2 separate regions of the Homo sapiens genome follow, and region 1 is linked to region 2. Evidence: promoter capture Hi-C in human tissues and cell types (Jung and others, 2019). All regions are on one chromosome and are shown on one strand. Each heading gives the region's core, a stretch centred on a gene start or on the middle of the fragment in contact. The rest is flanking DNA. Distances are from core to core; before and after follow the strand shown.

Region 1 (2,700 bases), core at 187-2,686, 180 kb after region 2:
GGGACAAGACTTGGGAGAGGCCAGGAGACCGGTCTTCAGAGTTCTTGTCCTGTTGAAGAGGCAGCCCTGTCACCTGCCAAGTGCTGGGACGGACACTGCATCCAAATTATAGAACTCAACCCTTAAAAGTTCTGGGCAGCTGGTATACCATTCCCAGGGCACTTGAGGAAGCTGAGGCTCAGTGATGAGAAGGCACTTGCCCATTGGGCACAGCTGGAAGGTGATCATCAGCCTGCTTTGCCTGGGGATCAAAGCCCTGGTTCCTCCTGCTGTTTCACAACTGCCCCAGGGGAGCATGGCCTGGTGGGCAGAAGCTGCCAGGAGGTTGCCCTGAGGTAACTCAGTGGAGGGTGCCCACCAAGGGATGACTGACCTACAAGCTCTTCTACCTCCTGTGCTCTCAAGTCAGAAAGACCACCAGGCATCCCTGAATGTTCCTGGTGCTCCTGCTTCAGCATTCAGTGTCCCACCTCCAACAGGAGTAAGGGGCCAGAGCACCTTGTGTTCCCTTGAGCTCCAGGAGGCACCAAGTGGAGGAGGCTGGGGTGTGGAATGCAGCAGGAAGACAAGGCTCAGTGAGGCTCAGCCCCCTACTGCTGGTGGCCCCCAAAGCTTCTCTAAGCACGCTATTTAGCTTCTGCTGTTTTATCATCTGTTAAAAATAGTCATAGGCCAGGCATGGTGGCTCCCGCCTGTCATCCCAGTGCTTTGGGATGCCAAGGCATCAGGATCACTTGAGCCCAGGAGTTCCAGACCAGTCTGGGCAACATGGCAACATGGCAAGACCACATCCTAACATCGTAACAAAAGGAGACCCCCATCTCTACAAAACAAAACAAATTTTTTTTTTTTGAGACAAGAGTCTCGCCTTGTCGCCTAGGCTGGAGTGCGGTGGCGCCATCTCGGCTCACTGCAAGCTCCGCCTCCCGGGTTCACACCATTCTCCTGCCTCAGCCTCCTGAGTAGCTGGGACTATAACCGGGTGTGGTGGTGTACGGCTGTGGTTCCAGCTACTTTGAAGGCTGAGGTGGGAGGACTACCCGAGCCCAGGAGGTTGAAGCTGCAGTGAGCCGTGACTGCACCACTGCACTCCAGCCTAGGCAACAGAGCAAGACCCTGTCTCAAACAACAACAACAAAAGCCTCAGTCACAGTCCTTGCCAACTCAAACAAACCAAATGTTTCCCTTTCCTCCAGCTTCTCCTGGCAAGGCTTCCTGTGACTCAGTAAACAACCCGAGAAGCCCTCCCCATGACTCTCATTCCCTCACACATCCCATGTCTAGTTCAACCTATCAGCTCTGCAACCACAAACCAGCACCCCACTATTACCACTGGATCTCAGCCACTGCTCCCCTGGCATGGCAGCAGCCTCCTGATAGCCCCGTGAGCCCACTCTCACCCCTAAGTGTATCCTCCACTCAGCCATCAGGGAGCTTTCTAGGCACAAACTAGGTTCAGTGACTTCCTGCTTCGACACCCACAAAAAAACCAGGTTCCAGGCCCACAAGTAGATGCAGCCAAACACAACAGCAGCCCCACACCCATGCAAGATCCCTGTCCCCATGCCCTGGTCCCAGTTCAATACCAGCCCTTGAGAGGCTCCCCCTAACCTTGATGTGCTTGTTGCTGCAGTCCCTCAGCAGCGGGTTGGGCAGGCTGGTGCTGTGCCTCCTCCAGCTGTGGTAGACGCTGAGCACGACCTCCGCCAAGCCTGGAGGCCACCTTACCAAGAACTTGTGGCCCATGGCTTTCAGGTAGCGCATCATCAGCTCCAGGATGCCCCCGTTGGTTAGGTTCTCCAGCAGGAACTCATGCACGTCCTGCTTTTCTGCCCGGGGAGCAAGAACAACCTGACTTGAATAAAGAGTACCTTCCATGCCAGGGTCTCCTATTTACTTTGGGACAGTAAAGACTGTTCCCTCCCTCTACCATCTGATCCAGGTGGACATGATACCACGTTGTGGTGCTGAGATCAGGCTACTGGGTTCAATGCCTGGCTCCAACCCTCAGCAGCTATGATTGAGCCTCTCTGAATCTCCGTATCTAAGGTGGACATCAAAAGGGCAGACCTCCAAGTGCTGCCATGTGCACTAATCTCACTCAACAGTTATACACTGATACACACTCAACAGGTGTGCTTATATAGATTCAATTTGCAAAGCGAAGTCTCTGAATTTGGCCATAAGAAAGCATAGCAAGTATGAGCCTGGACATTTCAGAAGACCTCCAAGCTGACCACAGGGCTTAGGTCCAAGACTAATCCAGGCAGACTCTTGGCCACACTAAAAAACACCCCAGAACCATTCTCCCAGAACAAAACATAAGCAGGTTATAGGATAGTGGGAAGAAGAATTCCCAAAGTGAATGGTCACACTGCTCGATTCCTACCAGATTCCATGAATGTGGCTGAGTCAAATGACAGCCTTTGAGGCCCAATGCTTGGGAAGCTTTCCAGTTTGGCTTCTGACTGGACTTCATAGTTATTAAAGGAATCATCTTCCTCCTCAGGGTCCAGCTTTCTTAACCTGCATGTAACATGCCAAAATCACAAAGTCACAACACACGTTCTGACACAAGCATCTGAACTCTTCCTGTTAGAGAAACTAAATCTGAGTCAGGAAGAAGGCAGCTAAAATAAGTGGGTGGTGGGGTCCAGAACCCAGGCCTCCAGGAGGCTCTGCCTCTCTCCAGGGCCTCAT
Region 2 (2,835 bases), core at 6-2,505:
AATGTCACTGAGGCTTGGGAGTCGGGTGGGGGCGGGAGGAGGCATCCACAGGCCCCCCACCGCGAGAGGCAGCCGTGGGAACAGCCTGCCTCTAAACAATCATTCCAGTCCAGGCTGACCAGGGGCTCTGGCTGGACATAGGGGCCTGGCAGGCTGTGTGGCCTGTAAGGACACAGTCTGTCTCTGTGCCTCAGTTTCTCTGCTGCCCAGATGGGGGGGCCCGGCTTCCAGGTGTAGACATCTGGAGCAGGCAGTGTTCAGCTGGGGAGGAAGCGGGGAGGACTGTGGGGGCCACGTGGGAAGAAGTCCAGCCCACATCACCTGCACCCCTGCTGAGCCTGGTCAACAGAGCCCCTCAGTGGGTCCTCACTCTCCTGGCTGCCTCCCATTTAGGCACCCTGAGGCCTGGGGAGAACAGAGCCAGGCCAGTGTCCCTAGAGAGGCTGCGCTGCCAGCACAGTAATAGCGGATTTGGATTCAGGGAAGCAGACCCGCAGCTAGGGTGGGAAAGAGCTACAGGCAGGGCGTGGCCTCCACACAGCCTCCCTCCCTGGAGGTCCATGCTGCATTTCCAGGACAGCAAGTCCTGGACAAATGGTCCCGGATGCCAAGGGCTAGAGGCATGGTCTGTCTGCATTCCCCACATGGGCGTCTTGTAGTCACCAGCATTTGATGCTGTCAAGTCCCCCTGTCCTCTGTGCAGACTGGGAAGCCCTTGGCCACCCTGGGGAGTTGTGGGACCCAGGCCAGGCTGCAGAAGCATAAGGACTTGAACCCAAGTTTTAAGTGACACCACCTTGTGTCCCCCTCCCTCTGCCTCTGTTCAGCTCCACCTTGATGCTGACTAGGCTGGGCCATGAGGAGAGGGTTAGGGGATAGAGATGGGAGCTGGGGAGCAGGGCTCCACTCTGGGAGGGGGGCAGCCTTGCCGGATCCAGGGGAGAGAGTTGAGCGGCCCCAGCTCTGCTTTCCCAGAGCTGCCGGGAACCCGGGGAATGGTGTGGAGGTTCCAGGGAGCCCTGCCCCTACCTGGCAACCGCAGTGCAGCAGGCACCAAGTTCTCCTGCACATTGCGACAGTGTGACCCTGGGCTCTGGCGGGCGGTAGGTGGGGCCTTTGGACCTACTAGCAGTGAGGGAGTTAACACAGCAGCTGACTCCTCTAGGCAAGGAAAACTCCCCTCAGACGCTTTGCTGCCTGGCCTCCTGCCAGCAACAAGCAGGAGCTGAAAACCAGAAGTTGAGGCGTGAGTTTGGCCACTCCGTAGTGTGCACTTGGTGAGGGCAGCAGCTCGCCACAGCTGCCAGCCATCTGTCCATTCACCCATCTGTCCATCTGGCAGCCCGCTGTTCAGACCTGTCTGTCTGTCCGCCCATCTGTAAGCCCATCTCTGTCCCATTGTCTATCTGACCATCTTTCTCTTACTGTCCTCTTTGTCTAGCTATCTGGCCTATCTGTCGATCCATCTTCGTGTCTGTCTTCAGCCCCCACCTGTTTGTCCATCTGTCCAATTACCTGTGACTCTGTGCATCTTCTTGTCCATTCATCTGCCCACCCATCCGTCCCTCCGTCTGCCCACCAGCCGCCCCTCTCCTCCTGGGCTGCAGAGCCATGGCCCGGGGCTACGGGGCCACGGTCAGCCTAGTCCTGCTGGGTCTGGGGCTGGCGCTGGCTGTCATTGTGCTGGCTGTGGTCCTCTCTCGACACCAGGCCCCATGTGGCCCCCAGGCCTTTGCCCACGCTGCTGTTGCCGCCGACTCCAAGGTCTGCTCGGATATTGGACGGTGAGTGAGACGTGGGAGGAAGCTGGGTGGCCCTTGGCAGCCAGCCCCTCCTGGAGAAGGCGTGTGTGTGTGTGTGTGTGTGAGTGAATGTATGTGTGGGTGTGTGTGTGAGTGTCTGGGTATGTGTGATTGCATGCATGTGTGGGTGTGTGTGAGTGTATGTGAGTGTGAGTGTGGGGAGTGTGGGTGTGTGTGAATGTGTGTGATTGTGTGTGGGTATGTGTATGTGTGGGTGGGTGTGTGTGTGTGTGTGTGTGCACGTGCACTGGCCCAGGAAGCAGGAGCCGTGTGTGTGTGGGCTTCAGCACCTGCAGGTCTTGGGCGCAAGGAGGCAGCCTCAGGGCCCTTGCACAGAACAGGTGGCAGGGTGTGCTCGTGGGGCAGATGGGGACTTGGGGACAATGGTGGTGTGTGAGTCCACGCCTGGCTCCAGGATTCAGGAGGCCCATTTGCATATCCCAGGTGGGAACCTGTCTGGCCCCGCCTGACCCTGCTGGCCGGTGCAGGCCCCTTCAGTGAGGCCAATTCTCCAAGGCTGCGGTCTTCTCCCAGGGTCATGGGTGAAGGGGTTTGGAGGCTCCCTGCGTGGGTACTGGCCTGCTGGGGTACACACAATGCTGCCATAGCCAGTCTGCCCCAACACCCAGCCTGGGGCCACATCTCGGGTCTCTCAGTCCTGAGGAGCCCGGTGCCCCACCCCTCACATCCTCTCTCCCTGAGTCAGGGCCTGGGTCTCGTGAGCTGAGTGACTGATACTTGGTGTCCTGGATGAGGGCGTGGTGGAGAGGGGCCACAGCGGGTGTTTCCTGACCCTCTTCCAGGAAGCCCAGCCCAAGGGAGGCCTCCGCTGCTGCTGCTGCAGAGGACACATACAGGATGCCCCTTCCTGCTCCCTGCCTCCCACTGGGCCCACAAAAGCCAGGGCAAGCCTCCCCTCCCTGCCAGCCACCTGGTCTGCTTCCCAGAAGTTCTGTCTTGCAGGCTGTTGGGAGGATCCCAGTGCTTTGTAAATTAAAGCAAGGGAGGAGTGGCTGCTCTCTCTCTCTGTTCA

Evidence for each region. Contacts are between HindIII fragments. The study calls those that stand out against the background at their distance.
Region 1: a fragment that was not itself captured here is called in contact with the fragment with the promoter of GGT5 in region 2 in 10 of the 25 tissues and cell types used here (aorta, bladder, dorsolateral prefrontal cortex and 7 more).

Annotation. Positions count from the first base shown.
Region 1 is chr22:24,059,053-24,061,752 of GRCh38, reverse strand. It overlaps CABIN1 (calcineurin binding protein 1), which reads right to left. Exons shown (of 37, transcript NM_012295.4): 11 at 2,390-2,526; 12 at 1,612-1,829. Among named protein-coding and RNA genes, the nearest start is that of CABIN1, 49 kb to the right of the region's middle. The HindIII fragment of the contact is 4,065 bases long and covers 1-2,700 here.
Region 2 is chr22:24,243,502-24,246,336 of GRCh38, reverse strand. It overlaps GGT5 (gamma-glutamyltransferase 5), which reads left to right and starts at 1,255. Exons shown (of 12, transcript NM_004121.5): 1 at 1,255-1,784. The coding sequence starts at 1,612. RefSeq lists enhancers at 1-250, 1,363-1,918, 1,919-2,474. The HindIII fragment of the contact is 14,830 bases long and covers 1-1,460 here.